7 separate regions of the Homo sapiens genome follow, and regions 1, 2, 4, 5, 6 and 7 are each linked to region 3. Evidence: promoter capture Hi-C in 16 types of primary human blood cells and fetal thymus (Javierre and others, 2016). All regions are on one chromosome and are shown on one strand. Each heading gives the region's core, a stretch centred on a gene start or on the middle of the fragment in contact. The rest is flanking DNA. Distances are from core to core; before and after follow the strand shown. Region 1 overlaps SFXN4 (sideroflexin 4). Region 2 overlaps DENND10 (DENN domain containing 10). Region 3 holds the start of RGS10 (regulator of G protein signaling 10). Region 4 overlaps EIF3A (eukaryotic translation initiation factor 3 subunit A). Region 5 overlaps EIF3A (eukaryotic translation initiation factor 3 subunit A). Region 6 holds the start of PRDX3 (peroxiredoxin 3). Region 7 has its middle 9.1 kb from the start of EIF3A.

Evidence for each region. The method cuts DNA at HindIII sites, captures the fragments that hold promoters and counts their contacts. A CHiCAGO score of 5 or more calls a contact.
Region 1: a contact is called between a fragment that was not itself captured here and the fragment with the promoter of RGS10 in region 3, in 11 of 17 cell types (activated CD4 T cells, non-activated CD4 T cells, total CD8 T cells and 8 more). The highest score is 9.9, in activated CD4 T cells.
Region 2: a fragment that was not itself captured here is called in contact with the fragment with the promoter of RGS10 in region 3 in 12 of 17 cell types (naive CD8 T cells, non-activated CD4 T cells, naive CD4 T cells and 9 more); the score reaches 10.1 in naive CD8 T cells.
Region 4: a contact is called between a fragment that was not itself captured here and the fragment with the promoter of RGS10 in region 3, in 1 of 17 cell types (activated CD4 T cells). The highest score is 5.8, in activated CD4 T cells.
Region 5: a contact is called between a fragment that was not itself captured here and the fragment with the promoter of RGS10 in region 3, in 3 of 17 cell types (naive CD4 T cells, naive CD8 T cells and non-activated CD4 T cells). The highest score is 7.2, in naive CD4 T cells.
Region 6: the fragment with the promoter of PRDX3 here is called in contact with the fragment with the promoter of RGS10 in region 3 in 11 of 17 cell types (non-activated CD4 T cells, endothelial precursors, fetal thymus and 8 more); the score reaches 11.9 in non-activated CD4 T cells.
Region 7: a fragment that was not itself captured here is called in contact with the fragment with the promoter of RGS10 in region 3 in 1 of 17 cell types (naive CD8 T cells); the score reaches 5.0 in naive CD8 T cells.

The regions. Positions count from the first base shown.
Region 1 is chr10:119,159,952-119,163,083 of GRCh38, reverse strand. SFXN4 (sideroflexin 4) reads left to right here. Exons shown (of 14, transcript NM_213649.2): 3 at 670-744; 4 at 2,003-2,029; 5 at 2,115-2,169. Among named protein-coding and RNA genes, the nearest start is that of SFXN4, 4.2 kb to the left of the region's middle. The HindIII fragment of the contact is 382 bases long and covers 1,633-2,014 here.
Region 2 is chr10:119,113,561-119,116,719 of GRCh38, reverse strand. The region is part of intron 3 of DENND10 (DENN domain containing 10); the gene reads right to left. Among named protein-coding and RNA genes, the nearest start is that of DENND10, 11 kb to the right of the region's middle. The HindIII fragment of the contact is 2,453 bases long and covers 456-2,908 here.
Region 3 is chr10:119,541,371-119,544,496 of GRCh38, reverse strand. It overlaps RGS10 (regulator of G protein signaling 10), which reads left to right and starts at 1,778. Exons shown (of 5, transcript NM_001005339.2): 1 at 1,778-1,907. The coding sequence starts at 1,859. RefSeq lists enhancers at 15-523, 786-865 and silencers at 1,076-1,235, 1,286-1,355, 1,366-2,105, 2,156-2,325. The HindIII fragment of the contact is 10,649 bases long and covers 1-3,126 here.
Region 4 is chr10:119,065,744-119,069,232 of GRCh38, reverse strand. All of the region lies in intron 6 of EIF3A (eukaryotic translation initiation factor 3 subunit A), which reads left to right. Among named protein-coding and RNA genes, the nearest start is that of SNORA19, 7.4 kb to the right of the region's middle. RefSeq lists an enhancer at 2,127-2,628. The HindIII fragment of the contact is 500 bases long and covers 1,852-2,351 here.
Region 5 is chr10:119,041,381-119,044,442 of GRCh38, reverse strand. It overlaps EIF3A (eukaryotic translation initiation factor 3 subunit A), which reads left to right. Exons shown (of 22, transcript NM_003750.4): 18 at 301-389; 19 at 1,671-2,449. Among named protein-coding and RNA genes, the nearest start is that of NANOS1, 13 kb to the right of the region's middle. The HindIII fragment of the contact is 5,604 bases long and covers 1-3,062 here.
Region 6 is chr10:119,177,115-119,180,321 of GRCh38, reverse strand. It overlaps PRDX3 (peroxiredoxin 3), which reads left to right and starts at 1,510. Exons shown (of 7, transcript NM_006793.5): 1 at 1,510-1,567; 2 at 3,169-3,207. The coding sequence starts at 1,532. RefSeq lists a silencer at 1,368-1,477 and enhancers at 1,508-1,987, 1,987-2,631. The HindIII fragment of the contact is 12,445 bases long and covers 1-3,207 here.
Region 7 is chr10:119,088,419-119,091,481 of GRCh38, reverse strand. No RefSeq gene overlaps it. Among named protein-coding and RNA genes, the nearest start is that of EIF3A, 9.1 kb to the right of the region's middle. The HindIII fragment of the contact is 8,979 bases long and covers 1-3,063 here.

The sequences.
Region 1 (3,132 bases), core at 574-3,073, 380 kb after region 3:
GCTCATGTCTATAATCCCAGCACTTTGAGAATCTGAGATGGGAGGATCTCTCGAGAATAAGAATTTGAGACCAGCCTGGGCAATGTAGCGAGACCCTATCTGTACAAATAAAAATAGAAAGTTAGCCAGGTGTAGTGGGTTGTGCCTGTAGTCGCAACTATTTGGGAGGCTGAGGCAAGAGGATCACTTAAGCCCAGAAGTTTAAGGCTGCAGTGAGCTATGATCACACCACTGCACTCCAGCCTGGGCAACAGAGTGAGACCCTGTCTCTTAAAAAACAATAAGAAAAGAAAGAAAGAAAAAGAGAGGAAATAAGACTGAACTGATAAGACATGGAAGTGGGTGAGGGAGAAGGACTTCTAGGTTTCTGACATGTATAGCCAGGGGATGGTGGTAACCATTCAGTGCGACAGTTGACATCAGAGAGTGGGGGAGGTGACAGCACCATTGGGGGCAGCTGCTGGAGCATCTAGGAAGAGGAAGGCATAAATCTGAATGGCACTCAGGGCTATCCTAATGGATAGAGAGCCTAGGGCACCATGTGGCTTGAAATCAGGCATGCAGTCGAAGTCCAGTGCATGCTGGTGAGTGAGCTGGTGATTCCTACCTCTGGGGATAAACCTGAACAATGTTGAGATCATTACTTGATTACTTGATATCTGATTTTAGGAAAGTATAGAAAACTCGAGGCAACTATTGTGCACAAATGAAGATGTTTCCAGCCCTGCCTCGGCGGACCAAAGGGTATGTTTCACGTGCTCAGGTCTGGCTGGTTGCCCTCAGATGGTTCTGCCTGCATGGTCTGAAGTCAGGTGGAATTTGGCCATTAATCTCTGTCTCCGTCTCTTTTCTTTCTTTTTTCCTTCCCTTGGGAGCCACTGTTCTATTGGCTATTAATGCTGTCATTGTTATATACTGCCCAGAGGACCAGCTTTGCAAAACTGGGTTAGTTTTTTAAATGTAGTTAGAATTCTGTCCCATAAACCAGACAGCAAGTTTCCTCCTACACAGTGGATATTTGTGGGGATTCCCTGCAGCTGATTCCTGGAGCCCAGTGGCAAACCCCAGAATTCAGACAGGGCTCTGACGTCAGAATTCATTCTCCACTGCAGGCAGCGTTCCTGCCGATAGGCTCAAACGGACTGTTCCTTATCTACCTTGCAGTATGTGGGGCTTTCTGGAGCTCACAAACACCAGCTCCTCAAGACAGCCTATGGAGAGCTCACATATTTAACTTTTTCTAAGAATGTGCTGGGGACCCTGGGCTGACAGCTTGGCTCTGTTGCAAGTAACTTGACTGATGGCATGGTGTGTCATCAGCACACAGCCTGCTCTGCTCTGAGCCAGAGGCAAGCCGGATTCGGGGACTCATCTGAGGGATAAGTTAGGTGTTGGTATTCTCCAAGGGTAGAGACAGGACTTTTTAATGTTCTGGTCCATTTCTCTGTGTGGCTCGTCTCTTTGCTTGTCATTAGTTCATTTGTTTATTCATATGATCCATTTATTTTGATTTGTTCTGTCAATGTGGTAAATAACAGCTCTGGCCTTCACTCTCTGAAAGGTAGAACAAATGTGGTCCCAGAAATGAGACAGGCAAAGAAATTCTTTGCTGTTGAGCCACCTTTAAAAGCTTTTTTTTTTTTTTTGTTTTTTTTTGTTGTTGTTGTTGTTTTTTTAAGGCTGGGTGTGATGGCTTAACCCTGTAATTCCAATGGTTTGGGAGGATGACTTGATGCCAAGACTGCAAGACCAGCCTGGGCCGTATAGCAAGACCCCATCTCTACTAAAAATTAAACAACTAGTTGGGAATGGTGGCGTGAGCCTGTAGTTTCAGCTATTCAGGAGGGTGAGGTGGGAGGATCGTTTGAACCCAGTAGTTCGAGGCTGTTCTGCAGTGAGTGATGATTGTGCCACTATACCCCAGCCCTGGGTGACAGAGCAAGACCTTGTCTCTTAAAAAAAATTTAAAATGAAACAAAGCTATTCTTTTTTCTCCTTTAAGATACAAGAAGCTTGGAAGCGGAGTCTTGTAAGTTTCAGCCCCTTCCTAATTTTTAGTGTCCTATAATAACAAAACCAGACATCCAGCTAACCTTGCATCTCTCCTTTTGAAGGCAACAGTGCATCCCGACAGCAGCAACCTGATCCCCAAGCTTTTTCGACCTGCAGGTGAGTTGGTTCTAATTTTCAGAAGTGGGTTGGGAAGATGTAGTTTCTAACACTTAGAAAACTCTGCCTGCCGGATCACCTGGGGTCAGGAGTTCGAGACCAGCCTGGCCAACATGGTGAAACCCCGTCTCTACTAAAAATGTAAAAAATTAGTTGGGCATTGTGGTGGCACGTGCCTGTAGTCCCAGTTACTCAGGAGGCTGAGGCAGGAGAATTGCTTGAACTTGAACCCGGGAGCCGGAGGTTGCAGTGAGCTGAGATCATGCCATTGCGCTCCAGCCTGGGCAACAAGAGTGAAACTCCGTGTCCAAAAAAAAAAAAAAAAAGAAAAGAAAACTCTGCCTGCCTTGCTTTAATTATTTCTCCCCCAGCAGGATTTCTTTCTTTTTTTTTTTTTTTGAAACAGTGTCTTGCTCTGTCACCTAGGCTGGAGTTCAGTGGCACAATCTCGGCTCACTACAACCTCCGCCTCCCAGGTTCAAGTGATTTCTCCTGCCTCAGCCTCCTGAGTAGCTGGGATTACAGGTGCCTGCCACCATGCCCAGCTAATTTTTTTCCTTTGTGTATTTTTAGTAGAGACAGGGTTTCACTATGTTGGCCAGGCTGGTCTCGAACTCCTGACCTTCTGATCCGCCCACTTGGCCTCCCAAAGTGCTGGAATTACAGGCGTGAGCCACTGTGCCTGGCCATGTTATAGTAATTTTATGTACATACTTTATTATTATTGTCATTTTTAGAGACAGGGTCTCGCTCTGTTACCCAGGCTGGAGTACAGTAGCACCATAATAGCTCAAAGCAGCCTCCAACTCCCAGGCTCAGCTGATCCTTCTACCTCAGCCTCCTGAGTAGCTGGGACTACAGGGTCATGCCGCCACACCTGGCTTTAAATTTTTTATGGAGGTGGGGGTCTCGCTACCTCTACAAAATAGAGGCTGGTCTCGAACTCCTGGCCTCAACCCATCC
Region 2 (3,159 bases), core at 433-2,932, 430 kb after region 3:
TCCAGCCTGGTCAACAGAGCAAGATTCTGTCTCAAAAAAAAAAAAAAAAAAAAAGAAAGAAAGAAAGAAAAGAAAAAGCTTGAGAGACCTTCAACAATTCTTTGGACTCAGCCATCTCCTTACATCTGGGAGCCCCTTGTTGTACTAAGGCAGGAGAATGAAGTACGAACTTCCTGAGGTCCCAGGATTCTCAAGAATGTTGTGCACTTATCCTGTGTCTTACATTCACAACTGGGGTTCTCAGTCATACAACTCTGTTTTATCACTGAGATTTCCTTTGACGAGAAAGGAGTTTTACGCACTGTTCACAGAGAAACCAGTAATTAGTTGTAGAACCCATACTTATTATTAAATGAGTTCCCAGAGGTAGCTATATTTAGATAATTAAGAAATCAAAACTCCTTTAGGTTTCTGGTGATAAATGCACATTAGACATTCATCGTCAAGTTAAAGCTTCTAGAAAATGCTGACAGGAAACTGGCTGCATTTATAGCTCACATGTGGAATCCGTCTCTTCCCCTTGAAATCTCTTCCTGTGAGCAACTAAAATTAAATTTTGCTTGAGAAACATGACTGGGTCTATTTGGGCCTTTCAGGAGCTGGTGGGATAGAAAATCGGGAAGAAAATAAAACATATTTAAGACAGATCACTTGAGGGCCGGGCACAGTGACTCATGCCTGTAATCACGGCACTTTGGGAGGCCAAGGTGGGCGGATCACTTGAGGCCAGGAGTTAGAGACCAGCCCGGGCAACACGGTGAAACGCTGTCTCTACTAAAAATATAAAAATTAGCTGGGCCTGGTGGCTCACACCTGTAATCCCAGCTACTTGGGAGGCTGAGGCAGAAGAATTGCTTGAACCCAGGAAGAGGAGGTTGCAGTGAGTCAAGATCACACCACTGCACTCCAGCCTGGGCAACAGAGCGAGATTCCGTCTCAAAAAAAAAAAAAAAAAGATCACTTGAAAATTATATTTATCATAGACTAAATGAAAAAAGCAAGTGTTTTAACTGCTTGCCAACTTTTGTCAATCATCAGTGTTTTTTTAAAAATTACCAATTCCAGCACTTTGGGAGGCCGAGGCGGGCGGATCACGAGGTCAGGAGATCGAGACCATCCCGGCTAAAACGGTGAAACCCCGTCTCTACTAAAAATACAAAAAAAATTAGCCGGGCGTAGTGGCGGGCGCCTGTCGTCCCAGCTACTTGGGAGGCTGAGGCAGGAGAATGGCGTGAACCCGGGAGGCGGAGCTTGCAGTGAGCCGAGATCCCGCCACTGCACTCCAGCCTGGGCGACAGAGCGAGACTCCGTCTCAAAAAAAAAAAAAAAAAAAAAAATTACCAATTCAATTCACAACTTGACGGAAAAAAAGTAGAGAACAATGAATGTGGTGAGCTTTCACACATGTAAAATACATTCAAACCCAGGAACTCACACACAGGCTCACACAGGGAGAAAAACTTCTCTGATAGGATATAAAGAAGGAGGTCACGGGAGTTGTGTGGGGTGGGGATCAGGAGGTAGAACTGGAGTCTGGGAACAGGAGGAGGCGGCAGCTCAGTTTTCACTGCATATTCTCCTGTGTTTCTAAATGTGCTTTATTACTACCAACAACAAAAAACCAAAATGCCATTAGCTTTCTAAAATAGAGGCCAAGCACTGTGGCTCATGCTTATAATCTCTACACTCTAGGAGGCCGAGGCAAGAGGCTCACTTTAGGCCAGGAGTTCCAGACAAGCCTGGTGAACATGGTGAAACCCCGTCTCTACTAAAAATATAAAAATTAGCCAGGTGTGGTGGTGTGCACCTGTAATTCCCACTACTTGGGAGGCTGCAGCACAAGAATCACTTAAACCCATGAGTTGGAGGTGGTAGTGAGCCGAGGTGGCGCCACTGCATTCCAGCCTGGGTGACAGAGTGAAACTCTATCTCAAAAAAAAAAAAATTATAAAATAGAAACAATACACAGTAATAGAGAAGAGAAACATAAGGTTGGTAGGATAAGATGACTTCCTACATGACAACCCTGGGCCAGGAGAGATAAAACAGAGGGGGAAATCCCCCCAAAACCACTCCACAGGAAAAGCCCACAGTGCGACCCCAAGCACCTTGTTCAGATAGACATCCATAGGCTGCCACACATCGAGGCCTGTACAGCTGACTGCAAGTGTGCATGAAACCCCGGTTCTCTAGCAGGGCCACTAGCAGCAAGCGACTAGAGGCTGAAGAGGACCACAGCAGTGAACCTGCAGCCACATAGGGAATGAGGTTCCCTCCTGCGGGCTTCTGCTGCCACTGTGAGCAGCAAGCTGTGTGTGGAAGGCACGCCTGCCTGCTCCTCACCAGAAATGGAGGGAGGCAACTCCATGTTAAACTGTCATGAAGAAAAGAAGTCTTTGCCTATGAGTGTGTGCATGTACACACAGACCTGTGTGTGTGTGTGTGTGTGTGTGTGCAAATACTTGGATGTGCATACATGCAAGAGTGAGCATAGTGCTGCATGAAGGGGCAGGAAGCAGAGGAGGCGGCTGGCAGTAGCTCCGAGTCCTCACTTCTCTTGCACTGTGACGGGAGAAGAAATCCAGGATACTACAATGCCACGCACTGCACAAGCTGAGAAACCCTCTGGGCCTCCTTCTGGGCAGGAAGTGGGGTCTGAAGCAACCTTGCCTTTTGGACTCCAGAATATTTCCCAGTGAATTCAGTTGAGCAACATAACCCTGACTCAACCAAATGAAATGGGAGTCCAATGTTTGTTCAAAAATACCTCTGTAGTGTTTTTAGTTTATGGCTTCTGGATAGCGTCTTTTCTGGCAATAATAATCTCCCTTTGTGTAAGTGCCACATTAGCAGACAACTGTTTATCCACAGTGAGACATTCACCTGGTTCTTATGAGAGTAGGAAGCTTTTTTATTCTGGCTGGTTGCAAAAATGGTGAAATCTCATTTAGCCAAGATATAATCTAACTGAAACCCTTAGGTAATGAGAAGATAGTCTTATGATAGAGTTTTTCTCTTTTTTTTTTTTTGCTTCTTTTGGTGTGTGTATATACATTCACGCACAAAAATAGCCAAAAGCCTACCATTTATTAGGCTTATAAAACAAAAACAATTCCCTTCACCCTCAGTGCCCCCAAAAATCTCTGTATTAGGGAAAAG
Region 3 (3,126 bases), core at 529-3,028:
ACACGCTAGGGTGGACTTGGCAACTAGCAAAACACTGAGCTGCTGTGCCTAACTTTTACCCCTGTGTGCCAGTGTGCTTATTTCCTGTCTTAGGATTACTTGTAATTTGGTCTCGGGGAAGTTTTCTGGGTGAGTGCGTTGCACCAATTCCCTTATTGTTTTAAGAACGCAGTGACCTCACTTGGATCCAGGACTCTGCCAGCATTTAAAATCCCGCTCTTACGAAAGGTGAAACTCTTGCCTATAGTTAAGTATCACAGCTTGATCCCATTACAATGAGATGGAAGTTTGTCTGGGCCCGGAGTAGGCCAACAACAGCAGTTTTAAAAGCAGAACTCCCCGCGCTGGGTCTAACCCTGTTCTTGGTCACCGCGTTCGCTTCAGGAGCCTGGAAATCCTCTTTTGGCAGCAGAAGGGGGAGAGTGCTTGGAAATGCTCGGAGGAAAACGACTTTTGGAGGGGGAATAGCGGGGAGGGAAACAACAAGCAACCACCGGCCACACTTGGGGTGCAACTGGGGCTGTGGGGTGGGTAGAGGGAGAGGGAAAGTGAGCAGAACTGGAAGCTCAGAATAGAAGATACAAAAGAAAGTGCCAAGTAGTGAAAAAAACTGCAAAAGGACGGGGGGATGGGGGGAGGGCGACTGGGGAACGGTTTGGAAAAATAGCAATTAGTACAGCTAAAAATAAAGACCAATTTAGAGACAAAGCCAGATACACAAGGAGAAAAATAAAACTCGCCAGAAAGACAATTTCTTGCAAACCAAATGTTCAAGAAAATGGGGGCTAATGACATCCCCTCTGGGGCTGCTCCATAGAAGAAATGAAATAATAGGAGACCGTAGAGCGCGCAGCGCCCAGCAGGTGACGCCGTGGGGGCTTGAGTGGTCCCGGTCGTGGAGCCTGAAGGCCCTGCCAGAGGCAGTGCCCACGTGTCCCCAAAGTTAGAGAAGTGTCCCGAGAGCGCGGTGTGCGGGACAGAGCACCGCCCGGCGCAGGAACCGGGGGGTTCCTGCAGAATCCTCTCAGATCTCCCCGAGTCCTGGCGCCCGCGCGGCACGGCCGGGGAGAGGGCGCCCACCCGCGGCGGCTCGGCTAGCTCAGCGCACGGGCCCTGGGGACGCCCCACCCGCATTCGCGGGGCGGGAAGGCGCAGCGCCCACGAAGTCGAGGAGCAGCCAGGCCCCAGCAGGCGGGGATCCTGGTGACGAGGAGGCAAAGGCCACAGGCTGGGCCGCGCCCGGACTCTGCAGAACCGCGAGGCCTAGGCTTCCCAGCCTGTGACCCGGGAGGGGACCCCGCCCGCCACCTGCGAAGGCTCGCTGAGAGCCCCGAAGCGCGGTGCGCCCGCGGCGCCGTGCCAGTTTCTCCGGGGCTACAGGGAGAAGGCGGGAGACCGCGATGGGCCCGGGAGCTTGAAGCTGGGCGGGGCGGGCCGGGGCGGCATCTCAGGCGAGGGCCAGGGACCCCGGGACGCGCTAACCGCCTCCGCGGGGCTACTAAGTTCCCGGCGGCGCGGGCTCCCTCTGGGCCAGTGCACCTTATCCCAGGCGCGGGGCACACTCTGGGCGATCGGGGGTCACCCGGGGCTGCCCTGCCCTGCCCCGCCCGGGCACCCCGGAGCGGAACCGCGAGTCCTCACCAGCGGGGGCGGGCAGGGCGCACTGAGCGCGCCACGCGGCGCCTGGCTAGGAGGAGGGCGGCGGGCGGGGACCTAGAGCTCCGGGGCGGTGCTGAGCCCGCTCCTCCTCCTTGCCCTCCTCCTCCTCCTCCTCGCCCTCCTCCTCCTCCTCGCCTTCCTCCGGCTCAGCCGCCGCGCCGCCGGGCTGCTCCTTCTTCCTCCTCGGGCGCCCGCGGCGATGTTCAACCGCGCCGTGAGCCGGCTGAGCAGGAAGCGGCCGCCGTCAGGTAAGCGGCTTCGGGGGCCCGCGGGCTCGGGGTCGGGGCGCCGTTTCGCCCGCCCGGCCTCCTGCCCTCCCTCTTGTGCTCGGGCGCGGCTCGGTGGTACCTCCCAGACTGGAGCCCCGGCCGACCGCACCACCTCTCCCCGCTGGGTACCGCACCTTCGCGGTCCCAGCCGCGACGGGAGCGCAGAGCTCCTCCGGGAGCCCCGGGGAGGAAGTTTGGCTGAAAGAGGAACAGCCGCAGTTTTCTTTTTAGTGATGGTCTGGGAGAAAAAGGAGCGCCCCAAATCTCCAAACTTTGGAGGTGACATGGGGCTCCAGATTCCGAAAGCGGAACGGCGCGCGGGCTTCTCCCTCCGTGACGCTCTCCGCCTCCGCTGCGGGCGTGGGTGGAAGGATGCCGAGCGCCCGGGGGAGCACGGCTGGACCCGGGCATCCGACTGGGCCCCTGGGCCTGGGGCGTCGGGGGCCTTCGCTTCTGCCGCGAGGAGCCAAAAGGTGGGATCGCGAGGGTGGCGGAACCCCAGGATGGAGAAGGGCACTTCTGCGGTCCGAGCCAGCGAAGTTCTGACGTTACGAAGGATTCGCCTTGGCCGTCACTTTGGGCCAGCCTGAGCCACGATCTCGGGCAACTTGATAGGCCAAAGACCCCACGGTGAAGGTGGAGCCGTGCCCTTGATTCCGGTCCTTCCACCCTTTTGCTCATCACAATAGCTACGACCTGTGCAGGCCTTTGGGTGCGCCAAGGGCTTTGTCCACCGCGTTGGGTGAACTCTCCCTTCACCCCTAGGACAACCCGGTGAGTGAGGAGGGAGCGGAAGCCAGGCGCTGTTAGGTAACTTGCCCCAGTCACACTCCGCAGGTGATGGGGAGGCTTTCAAACCCAGGTTCCCCTGACTCTGAAGTTCGGGGGCTTTGCCGGGCTTCCCACGCCAAGATTCACTTCTGCTTGGCGCTCAGAGTCCCAACGCGTTGGTGCATTTCCTTTCTGCTCCTGGTATTTTATGAGGGACATTGTGGTTTAGAGACTGGGACCAGACTGGCTGGATCCGAATCTCACCTTCGCCATATTCACCAGCCGTGGGACCTTTCTGCAGAATGAGGTTCTGCACAGTGGGAATAACAGTAGCTACTCGCCTTTTAAAGTACTTAATTGGAACCTGTCTTCCATCCATCAGGTTTTGCAAATTATTGTATTTAATATGTAGGATTTCATAGGGTTG
Region 4 (3,489 bases), core at 852-3,351, 480 kb after region 3:
ACCGCCAGTTGTGACTATTAAGACGTCTCAAGACATTGCCCTTCCTGAACAGTATTCTTGGACTTTAGTAGTTGGTCTTGAACTCCTCACCTCAGGTGATAAGTAACTCCGCTAAAAGCCCAATTGAGAAATTTGAATATTAGGAAAAACACATTTAACGGATGAGCTTTCTATCCACATAGAGGTGGAGTCTATTCTCAGAACAAATAGAAAATTAAGAAAAATACTTTTTTTTCCTTTTCTTTTTTTTTTTTTTTTTTTGCAAGACAGAGTCTTTTGTTGCCCAGGCTGGAGTGCAGTGGCACGATATTGGCTCACTGCATCCTCTGCCTGCTGGGTTCAAGCGATTCTCCTGGCTCAGTCTCTGGAGTAGCTGGGATTACAGGCACCCACCACCATGCCCGGCTAATTTTTGCATTTTTAGTAGAGACAGAGTTTTACCATATTGGCCAGGCTGGTCTCCACTCCTCACCTCATGATCCACCTGCCTCTGCCTCCCAAAGTGCTGGGATTACAGGAGTGAGCCACCGCGCCTGACTTGTATTTTATTTTATTTTATTTTTTCTTGAGACAGAGCCTTCGCTCTTATCGCCCAGGCTGGAGTGCAATGATGCGATCTCACTCCGCCTCCTGGGTTCAAACAATTCTCCTGCCTCAGCTTCCTGAGTAGCTGGGATTACAGGTGTGCACCACCATGCCTGGCTAATTTTTTGTATTTTTGGTAGAGATGGGGTTTCATGATGTTGGCCAGGCTGTCCTCGAACTCCTGTCCTCAGATGATCCTCCTGGTTCGGCCTCCCAAAGTGCTGGGATTACAGGTGTGAGCCACCACGCCTGGCAGGGTAAATACTTCTATCAAGTCATTTTTTCCTGATTGCAAAATATTAAGTGTAGAATATTTGGGTCATGTTTATTCTCATATAAATACATATGAATATAAAAGGAAGGGTCTATAACCCAACAACCTATAGACCAATTTTTTCCCTGTGCTCCACACGTTCAGAGAAACTTCTCTAGCAACAAACTATAGAAATGAGCCCCGAAGGCATAGTCTTCCATTTTATTATTTTTAACGTTACGTATAACCTGTTTTCTGTCACTTAAAAAAAAAATACATTTCTGGCCTGGCGCAGTGACTCATGTCTGTAATCCCAGCAGTTTCGGGAGGCCAAGGTGGGTGGATCACTTAGGGTTAGGAGTTCAAGACCAGCCTGGCCAACATGGCAAAACCCCGTCTCTACTAAAAATACAAAAATCAGCTGGGTGTGGTGGTGCACGCCTGTAATCCCAGCTACTCGGGAGGCTGAGGCCGGAGAATGGCTTGAACCTGGGAGGCGTAGCTTGTGGTGAGCTGAGATTGTGCCACTGCACTCCAGCCTGGACGATAGAGCAAGACTCCATCTCAAAAAAAAAAAATGCTATTGGACTTAGGCAACACACATACCACCTGTTTTCTTGTATTGGTCCACCAATTATTTTGTTATCCAGTAGAATTATGTAAAGCAAATTGTCTTTCTTATGTAAAACTATTTTAGAGCAATTCATGGGACCAATTAAATGAGTCCCACTAGTATATTTTCTTTCTTTCTCTTCTTTGTTCTCTATGTCTTTGCTTTCTGATACGGTCTTTCTTTCCTTTCTCATAGGGTCTTGCTTCCTTGCTCCAGATGGAGTGTAGTAGTGTGTTGTAGCTCACTGCATGCATCCTTGAACTCCTGGGCTCAGACTATTCTTCCACCTCAGCCTTCTGAGTAGCAGAGACTACAGGCGAGCGCGACCACGTCCAGCTAATGTTTAATTTTTTTTGTGGAGGCAGGGTCTCGTTATGTTGCCCAGGCTGGTCTCAAAGCTTCTGGTCTCAAGTGATCTACCTGCCTCAGGCTCCGAGTGTGTTGGGATTTATAGGCATGAGCCACTGTGCTTGGCCACTAGCATATTTTCTTAGAAACTCTTGAGGATGGTGTCCGTTATGGCATCCACTGTCACTTATGTAATTCACATCCTTTTTTTTTTTTTGAGACAGAATTTTGCTCTTGTTGCCCAAGCTGGAGTGCAATGGCGCAGTCTTGGCTCGCTGCAACCTCTGCCTCCCGGGTTCGAGCGCTTCTCCTGCCTCAGCCTCCCAAGTAGCTGGGATTACAGGCGTGCGCCACCACGCCTGGCTAATTTTTTTTGTATTTTTAGTAGAAACGGGGTTTCACCATGTTAGCCAGGCTGGTCTTGAACTCCTGACCTCAGGTGATCCACCTGCCTCGGCCTCCCAAAGTGTTGGGATTACAGGCATGAGCCACTGCGCCTGGTCCACATCTGTTTGTTTTAAGGAAAAACATGTTCTTCCAGACACATAAGCTTGCCTTCAGAGAGTACTACAATAATAGTGAGCATTAGGCTGTCTAGCTCTTAGTACATTATTTGGTTTAATCTTTGCAGTAGCCTTATGACTCAGAAAATTAAGTATCTTGCCTACGGTCACAGTCTTGGAAATGGCGAAGGGGAGATGCTAGCCCTTCAGCTCCAGGGCTCGCAGTCTTTGGGGTCCTGCCATGCTCTGAATGCAGCCTGACTTCTTGTCTTTCAGGGATGTGAAAATTTAGCTCCTGGTTCTTGTCTCCCCCTCTCCCTCACTACCATAATAGTGTTCACTTCTGATTCTTAAAATTTTTTTCTGCCTTATTGCCACTTACTTCCTTAGGTTTTTTTTTTTTTTTTTTTTTTTTTTTTTTTTTTGACAGTCTTAACTCTGCCCCCCAGGCTGGAGTCCAGTGGCATAATCTTGGCTCACTGCACCCTCCGCCTCCTGGGTTCAACTGATTCTCCTGCCTCAGCTTCCTGAGTAGCTGGGATTACAGGCGCCTGTCACCATGTCTGGCTAATTTTTGCATTTTTAGTAGAGATGGGGTTTCACCATGTTGTCCAGGCTGGTCTGGAACTCGTGACCTCAGGTGATCCGTCTGCTTCGGCCTCCCAAAGTGCTGGGATTACAGGCGTGAGCCACTGCGCCTAGCCATTTCCTTAGTTTTTAAACCTGCCTTAATTTTGTAAGGAAGTCTGGGGTATATGAATGTGTGTTTTCTGTCATTTAATCACAATCTTTTTCTTTCTTTTTTTTTCTTTTTTGAGACAGAGTCTGGCTCTGTCGCCCAGGCTGGAGTGCAGTGGCGCGATCTTGGCTCACTGCAAGCTCCGCCTCCCGGGTTCATGCGATTCTCCTGCCTCAGCCTCCTGAGTAGCTGGGACTACAGGCGCCCACCACTACGCCTGGCTAATTTTTTGTATTTTTAGTAGAGATGGGGTTTCACCGTGTTAGCCAGGATGGTCTCGATCTCTTGACGTCGTGATGTGCCCCCCTTGGCCTCCCAAAGTGCTGGGATTACAGGCGTGAGCCACCGCGCCTGGTCAATCACAATCTTTTTCTGAAGCTAGAAAACACTGACAGTACTGAGTGGATAGATGAAGTCCTGATTCTCCAAGTATTCGTTTAAACACAGC
Region 5 (3,062 bases), core at 489-2,988, 500 kb after region 3:
TTTTCACATTCTTCAAAGGGGATTTCTAGGTTGAAGGAAATCTGTAGAGGTGTATGTTCCCAGGTTGCTTTCCAGCACAGTGTTATATCGGTTTGTAAGGCCACCTACAATATATGAGACTACCAGTTTCCCTGTAGCGTCAGTCTGATCTCAGATTAAAAAATAAATGAAATTTTAAAACTTGCTTATTTAAGGGCTTCATATTGTTATAAGTACAAAAAATATTTGAATGGTAATACCAGTAGTTGTAATAGTAAATGGTTACCAATGTAATGCTTCTTTTTCACTTTGTCAATGGAGGACTCTCGTTGGGGAGATAGAGATTCAGAAGGCACCTGGAGAAAAGGACCTGAAGCAGATTCTGAGTGGAGAAGAGGCCCGCCAGAGAAGTAAGTAGAGTTGAGGAAAATAATGCCGCTCCAGTTCCTGTTAATATCTTATCAGTGGTTTTAAAATTTGGTTCATTTTGTAGAGGCAGGGAAAGGAGAGCCATGAAGAATTGTGTGCATGTCTGATTGCGTGTGGGTTTGTATTTTGTTTTTTTGGGTCTGCTGCCCAGGCTGGGGTGCAGTGGCGCTATCTCGGCTCCCTGCAACCTCTGCCTCCTGGGTTCAAGTGCCTCAGCCTCTCGAATAGCTGGGATTACAGGTGTGTGCCACCACACCTGGCTACTTTTTGTATTTTTAGTAGAGATGGGGTTTTGCCATGTTGCCCAAGCTGGCTTTGACCTCTTGACCTCAAGCGATCTGACTGTCTCAGCCTCTCAAATTGCTGGGATGACAGGCATGAGCCACTGCACTTGGCCTGTGTTGTTGTTTTTGTTGTTGTTGTTGTTGTTTTGAGATGGCGTCTCACTCTGGAGTGCAGTGGCGCGATCTCGGCTCACTACAGCCTCAACCTCCCTGGGCTTAGGTGATCCTCCTGCCTCAGCCTCCTGAGTAGCTGGGACCACAGGTGCGCTCCACCATGCCTGGTTAATTTTGTTTGTTTGTTTCTTTGTTTTTGAGACAGAATCTAGCTCTGTCACCCAGGCTGGAGTGCAGTGGCGCGTTCTCGGCTCACTGCAGCCTCCGCCTCCTGGGTTGAAGCAATTCTTGTGCCTCCCAAGTAGCTGGGAGGCACTTGTAATCCTCCCAAGTAGGATTACAGACATGCACCACCACGCCTGGCTAATTTTTGCATTTTTAGTAGACCCGAGGTTTCACTATGTTGGCCAGGCTGGTCTTGAACTCCTGACCTCAAGAAATCTGCCTGCCTCGGCCTCCCAAAGTGCTGGGATTACAGGTGTGGGCCACTACGCCTGGTGAATTTTTATATTCTTTATAGTGATGGGGTTTTGACATGTTGCCCAGGCTAGTCTCAAACTCCTGGGCTCAAGCAATCCTCCCGCCTTGGCCTTCCAAAGTGCTGGGATTACAGGTGTGAGCGACTGTGCCCAGCCGCATGTCTTACAATTAAGTAGAGATGGGTTTTGCCAGGCCAGGCTGGTCTTGAACTCCTGACCTCAGGTGATCTGCCTGCCTCTGCTTCCCAGAGTGCTGGGATTAAAGGTGCGAGCCACTGCTCCGGCCCATACTGAAGTTTTTAAAAAGCATGTGAAAAAAAAAATCCCCAAAGGATCATATGCTTTTTTATTTTATATATTTTTAATTGTTCTTGTTGCTGTGTAGGGAGTGGAGACGTGGAGAAGGGCGAGATGAGGACAGGTCTCATAGAAGAGATGAAGAGCGGCCCCGGCGTCTGGGGGATGATGAAGATAGAGAGCCCTCTCTTAGACCAGACGATGATCGGGTTCCCCGGCGTGGCATGGATGATGACAGAGGCCCTAGACGTGGTCCTGAGGAAGATAGGTTCTCTCGTCGTGGGGCAGACGATGACCGGCCTTCCTGGCGTAACACAGATGATGACAGGCCTCCCAGACGAATTGCCGATGAAGACAGGGGAAACTGGCGTCATGCGGATGATGACAGACCACCTAGACGAGGACTGGATGAGGACAGAGGAAGCTGGCGAACAGCTGATGAGGACAGAGGACCAAGACGTGGGATGGATGATGACCGGGGGCCGAGGCGAGGAGGCGCTGATGATGAGCGATCATCCTGGCGTAATGCTGATGATGACCGGGGTCCCAGGCGAGGGTTGGATGATGATCGGGGTCCCAGGCGAGGCATGGATGATGACCGGGGTCCCAGGCGAGGCATGGATGATGACCGGGGTCCCAGGCGAGGCATGGATGATGACCGGGGTCCCAGGCGAGGGTTGGATGATGATCGAGGACCTTGGAGGAACGCCGATGATGACAGAATTCCCAGGCGTGGTGCAGAGGATGACAGGGGCCCTTGGAGAAACATGGATGATGATCGCCTTTCAAGACGTGCTGATGATGATCGGTTTCCCAGACGGGGTGATGACTCAAGACCTGGTCCTTGGAGACCATTAGTCAAGCCAGGTAAAATTCTATTTCCTAGAATATGCTTAAGTGTTCACCTGTAAAAGTGAAATTCTGATGGATAAATATCAGGGCTGTATTGTTATTTTCCAGATAAACTGGTCTTTCATCTTTCCTTCAGTATCATTTGCAGTGACTTCGCTGTCAAAAGTTTGCCTTCAGAATACCACCATCCAAAACATAAATAACCCAACCCCTCTCTTCTTTAGTGATGTGCTCTTTGTTTTCCTTCTGCTTCGATGACTGCTTCTTTGAAGGCTCTTCCTGTACTCATGCTTTCAGTATTGGTGTATTTTTCAGGTTTTACTGGGAACCAGCCTCCTTTTAAAAATAAATAATTGAAACCAAAATGTACTTTATATATTTATTTTTGCCAACTGAGAGATTATGCAAGGAGGAACTCATTTTACTTTACTTTTTTTGAGACAGGGTCTTGCTCTGTTGCACAGGCTGGAATGCAGTGGTGCAGTCATGGCTCACTGCAACCTTGACCTCCCGGACCCTAGGGAGCCTCCCACTTCAGCCTTCTGAGTAGCTAGGACTACAGGCGCATGCCACCACACCCTGCTAATATTTTATTTTTTGGAGAGACGGGGTTTCGCTATGTTGCCCA
Region 6 (3,207 bases), core at 261-2,760, 360 kb after region 3:
AAACACAAGGAAGGTGTGAGGTGAAATAGTCGAAACGTGTGTCCCCACACATCCAAGGCAGTCCTTTCCACATCTGGGGACTGGTACCCAGGGTGGCGCCTAGTGGTACCTGAGATGATTTTAGAAAATATACTGGGCTGGGTGTGGTGGCTCACGCCTGTAATCCCAGCACTTTGGGAGGCCAAGGTGGGAGGATCACCTGATGTCAGGAGTTCAAGACCAGCCTAGCCAATATGGTGAAACCCCATCTCTACTAAAAATACTAAAAAAATTAGCCGGGTTTAGTGGTGCACGCCTGTAATCCCAGCTACTCGAGAGGCTGAGCCAGAAGAATCGCTCGAACCAAGGAGGTAGAGGTTGCAGTGAGCCGAGATTGTGCCACTGCACTCTAGCCTGGACGACAGAGTGAGACTCTGTCTCAAAAAAGAAAAGGAAAAAAAAAAAAGAAAGCCAATTTAAAGAAAATAGTAAGTGATATTTGGTGATAAGAAGACTTGAGAAACGAAGTTGCTAATTGAATGACTAGTGATTGGAAAATACCAACTCAGACCGGGTGCAGTGGCTCATGCCTATCATCCCAGCACTTTGGGAGGCCGAGGTGGGCGGATCACTTGAGGTCAGGAGTTTGAGACCAGCCTGGCCAACATGGTGAAACCCCATCTCTACTTAAAATACAAAAACTTAACTGGGCATGGTGGCAGGCGGCTGTAATCCCAGCTGCTCAGGAATCCCAATTACTCATGAAGCTCAGGCAGGAGAATCGCTTGAACCCGGGAGGCAGAGGTTGCAGTGAGCCAAGATCATGCCACTGCACTCCAGCCTGGGCGACAGAGCAAGACCCAGTCTCAAAAAAAAAAAAAAAGAAAAGAAAAGAAAAGAGAAAAGAAAATACCAGCTCCAAGACTGCAATTTGTCACACTTACTGTAAGGCCACGGTGTGATTTTTATCTATGTTTGATGTGGTTGCTTCAAGTACTATGCTCACCACTGAACACTTGGCTTCATTAATAGACAAAAACCAAATTTTAAATTTGTCCCAGTTTTCCCAATTTTGGGAAGAGAGGCCAAATGTTAGACCACACACAATTCCAGCGGATTTCAGGCCAACAAAGCCTTGATGTGTCTAGCCCACTTAGCTTATTAACGGACTAAAACTGCATTTGTAATTAATTCCATTTCATACAGAAGCCGGAAGTCTCTACCTGAGGCTGAAATAAGAAAGGGATCCTGTCACAGAAATACTAGACACAGTAATCCACACAAGGTTAACAAAACAGTGGGAAATATGGAAACAAATACCTAATGCCCCGCCTGGATTCGTTCTTTTAAGGTTGGGGCGACAGTAGGAAAACCACGTGTCACTTGCCCAAGCATTCAGCCTTAAAGGGAATTTCTCCCTCAGGGTCTCCAGGAGGCGGGGAGGCGGTGGCTCCTCCGGCCCCGCCCCCCCACCAGCAGAGGGCCCGCTCACCACCCCGTAGGCCCCGCCCCTGCGTCTCTGCCCGCCCCGTGGCGCCCGAGTGCACTGAAGATGGCGGCTGCTGTAGGACGGTTGCTCCGAGCGTCGGTGAGTGGCTGTCGGCTGGGGACAGGCGTGGAGACACTGGTGGCTCCGGGAACGTGCTTCTCAGACAGGACCCCGCGCTTCTGGGCATGAGGGCCATTCGCCCTTCTTGGAGGGTTTCCGCGGGTAACGGACCCAGAGGCCTCCCTCCGGGAAGGTTCCATGCGCCTGCGCAGAACCGCCCTTCCCCACTCCATCCTCGCGGTCTCTTCCCCGAGTCCCTCCTCTTTCGGCGTCCCCGGTCCCCAGGCCCATCTCCACTTAAGGTCCTGGCCCTGATTCTGCCACCGACCCTGTGATCTTGGGCAAGCGCCTTCGCCTTTCTCAGACTGTGTACTTAAGATGGAAAGAATGATGCCTACATCAAGGCGTTGCTGTGAACAGCCCCTTAAATACTGGATAAAAACGCGCAAAGTGCTAAAAAACTCACAAAGGCTTTCCCTCCCAATCCCACTCCCGCGTGTTTCTGCTGCTGTTTCCTGCTTAACTGTGGGCAATGCGTCGTGCTCTTTTGGTACACGGCTTTCTCTGGTGGGGTTCAACACAGCCCCTTTCGTTCTCCTGAGTCATTTTGAACATTAAAGTTGAGCAAACCGGCAGAGTGCGGTGGCTCACGCCTGTAATCCTAGCACTTTGGGAGGCCGAGGCGGGCAGATCACTTGAGCCCAGGAGTTTGAGACCAGCCTGGACAATAATAGTGAGACCTTGTCTCTAAAAAAAAAAATAGCCGGGCATGGTGGTCAGTGCTCCTGGGGAGGCTAAGGTGGGAGGATCACTTGAGCCCAGGAGGTCGAGACTGCAGCGAGCCGAGATCGCGCCACTGCACTCTAGCCTGGGTAAAAGAGCGAGACTCTGTTTCAAAAAAAAAAAAAAAAAGTTGAGTAAACATGTCCCTTGAGCCTTTAACAGACTCCCAGAGGCTGAATTTGGCTCTTCTTGTTTACTTGTCGCTGGTGCTGGAGGGGCCTTGTTTTTCTAAGGAAAACCTTGAAATGGTAGAACATACTCAGCAGATAGTGCTGGGAAAAGCCTGCACAAGTCCCCTGGCTTCTGAACCCTGTGTTGCTTTAAGCGCATGGAGTTTCTGATTTTTTTTTTTTTTTTTTTTGAGACGGAGTTGTCGCCCAGGTTAGAGTGCAATGGCGCGATCTCGGCTCTGCAACCTCTGCCTCCCGGGTTCAAGCAATTCTCCTGCCTCAGCCTCCCAAGCAGCTGGAATTACAGGTGCCCGCCACCGCCGCCTGGCTAAGTTTTGTGTTTTTAGTAGAGATGGAGTTTCACCATCTTGGCCAGGCTGGTCTCGAACTCCTGACCTGGTGATCAACCCGTCTTGGCCTCCCAAAGTGCTGGGATTACAGGTGTGAGCAACCGCGCCCAGCCGGTCTTTGTGTTCTTATAGTTCCTCTCCACCTTCCAGTCTCCTAGGAGAAGGAAGCAGAAGGGAGTGTTAAGAACATGCAGATCCAATCCATGCTCTTAGAGTTTGGGGTTTGCTATTTGGTTCACAGGAACAGGGACAGCTGAAACCACCGTTGGCACGATGCCCTTTCAGCCTTCAGTCACCAGTCCAGGAAAACTTTCTAATAAAAAGTTTCTCTTTCCAGGTTGCCCGACATGTGAGTGCCATTCCTTGGGGCATTTCT
Region 7 (3,063 bases), core at 282-2,781, 450 kb after region 3:
TTTTTTATTTTTTGTAGAGAGAAGGTCTCCCTATTTTCCCCAGGCTGGTCTTGAGCTCTTGGGCTCAAGTGAGCCTCCTGTCTCAGCCTCCCAAATTGTTGGGATTACAGGTTTATGCCACGGTGCTCGGCTAAAACAGACTTAGAGCAAATGACCATGAGAAGGCTCTCTGAGGAGGTGCCATTCAAGCTGCTCCGTGAGAAGCTGATACAATGAAAAGGTCCATGTGAAGATTATCTAATATACACACCCCCAACATAAAAGTCCACACCCTGTGGTTTTAGGTTTCCTTCTAATCGTATTTAACGTATTTAACAGTGATGCTTGTTTTCAAACCACACCCAAAACCACCATGCACAGTGTATTACTCACTCTGCTTTATTGGGCCTGGTTGGTCTGTGTGGCTTTGGACATTACCTCCTAAATCCCCAAGCAGGAGCTGCACTTCATGGCATGTCAATAATGGCATGTGTGAGTATATGCATTGATCCCACAAACATGCTCCTCTCCTTCCCTTCAGCCTTCTCCTGGAGTCTGGCAGAAACTTAAAGGCTGAAGACAGCCAAATGTAAGATGCATTTCTCCCAATAAGTAACAAATACTGCCAGGACATGTTTTTACTAAATATACACTTAACTGAAGCTGCATTCCAATTTTCCTGCTTTGAATTTGCAGAACCCAAAAGGTCCAATGAGAACCGTCTGGCTCAGGCACAGTGCACCTCACATCTGCACTTCATGGACCATCGTTGAAAATTTCCAACCCCGGTTGGACACTTTCATGATTAAGAATGCACGGCTGTAAGGTTTCAGACCTTGTTACCACACCGTCGGAACCACCAAGGTGCTCTGAAACATAAAATGAACAACCACTTTCTGGTGTTGACTGTGTGCCAGGCACAATCTACATGCAAAAATGAACTGTCCTAGTGACGACCTTCAAAGGACTCCCAGTGGCATACAGGAGACCAACATGGAGAGAGGCAATCATAATACAGGAAGCCTCCTTTAATCAGTTTATTTATTCAACAGAAATTTACCGAGTGCTTACTATGTGCCAGGCACTGTTATAGGTACTAGACATACAGCAGTAAATGAAACAGACACAAAATCCTTGCCCTCATCAAGCTCGTTTTATTCTAAAGGGGTGGATAATAAAGAAATAAATTCATAAAATATATGGGGATCAGATGGTGATAAACCTGATCAAGTAGAGAAGGAAAGGCTGGGAGCAGTGACTCACGCCTGTAATCCCAGCACTTTGAGAGGCAGAGATGGGTGGATCACCTGAGGTCAGGAGTTTGAGACCAGCCTGGCCAACATGGTGAAACCCTGACTCTACTAAAAATATAAAAATTAGCCGGGCGTGTTGGTGGGCATCTGTAACCCCAGCTACGTGGGAGGCTGAGGCACAAGAATCACTTGAACCCAGGAAGCAGAGGTTGTAGTGCCACTGCACTCTAGCCTGGGCAACAGAGTGAGACTGTCTCAAAAAAAAAAAAAAAAAAAAAAAACAGGAGAAGGAAAATCAAGAAGAGAAGAAGAGAAGGGTGCTAGGAAGTATGGGTGCAAGGGATGTTATTATGACTTTAATGAGGTGAGGGAAGGTTATCATGGCTGAAAAGGTGACACTGGGGGTAGTGGAGAAGAACTGTGTAGGGCTTTGCAGGCCATTTTAAGGACGTTAGCTTTCACTGAGTTGGTGAACCACAAGAGGGTCTTGATCAGGGGACTGATAATTTCACTTTTGTTTTAAAAGGATTCCTCTGCTCACTATTAGGAGAGTAAAGTGAAGGTTTCCAAAGGTGGAAACTCACAGACAAGTTAGCAGGTTATTCAATACTCCAGTTGAGAAATGGTGGTGACTTGGACCAGGTGGTAGCCATGGAGGTGGTAGATATAGGATTCGTTGATGGGTTGATTGGATGTGGGGAGGTAACAAAAAAAGAGGATTCAAGGATGTTTCCAACATTTTTTGATCTGAGCAACTGGAAGAACCAGGTTGCCATTATTAACATGGGAAAGATGACAGGAGAAGATTGGAGGTAGAGGAGACCAGGTGTTTGGCAGGTTGAATGTGTGTAGTACATTGAACATTTAATAGATTTGCCAAACAGGCATCTGAATGTGAGAGGTCGGGCTTTCAGGAGAGAGGTCTAGGGCGGGTGATACAATTTTGTAACTTATAAGCCTAGAGATGATTTCTTTGTTTTTTGTTTTTGTTTTTGTTTTTTTTTTTTGAGATGGAGTCTTGCTCTTTCGCCCAGGCCGGAGTGCAGTGGCGCTATCTCAGCTCACGGCAAGCTCCACCTCCCGGGCTCATGCCATTCTCCTGCCTCAGCCTCCCGAGTAGCTGGGACTACAGGCGCCCGCCACAGCGCCTGGCTAATTTTTTGTATTTTTAGTAGAGACGGGGTTTCACCGTGTTAGCCAGGATTGTCTCGATCTCCTGACCTCATGATCCACCTGCCTTGGCCTCCCAAAGTGCTGGGATTACAGGCGTGAGCCACCGCGCCCGGCCTGAGATGATTTCTTTCTTTTCTTTTTTTTTTTTGAGACAGGGTCTTGCTCTGTTGCCCAGGCTGGAGTGCAGTGGCTCGATCTCGACTCACTGCAACTTCTGCCTCCTAGGTTCAAGTGATTCTCCTGCCTCAGCCTCCTGAGTAGCTGGGATTACAGGTGCGTGCCACCATGCCCAGCTAATTTTTGTATTTTTAGTAGAGACGGGGTTTCCATGTTGGTCAGGCTGGTCTCGAACTCCTGACCTCGTGATCTGCTCGCCTCTGCCTCCCAAAGTGCTGGGATTACAGGTGTGAGCCACCGCGCCCAGCTGAGATGATTTCTTTATTGAGATGAAGTCTTGCTCTGTTGCCCAGGTTGGAGGGCAGTGGCGTAATCTTGGCTCACTGCAACCTCTGCCTCCTGGGTTCAAGCGATTCTCCTGCCTCAGCCTCCCAAGTGGCTGGGATTACAGGCATACACCACCACGCTCGGCTAATTTTTGTATTTTTAGTAGAGACAAGGTTTTGCCATGTTGGCCGGGCTGGTCTCAAACTCCTGACTT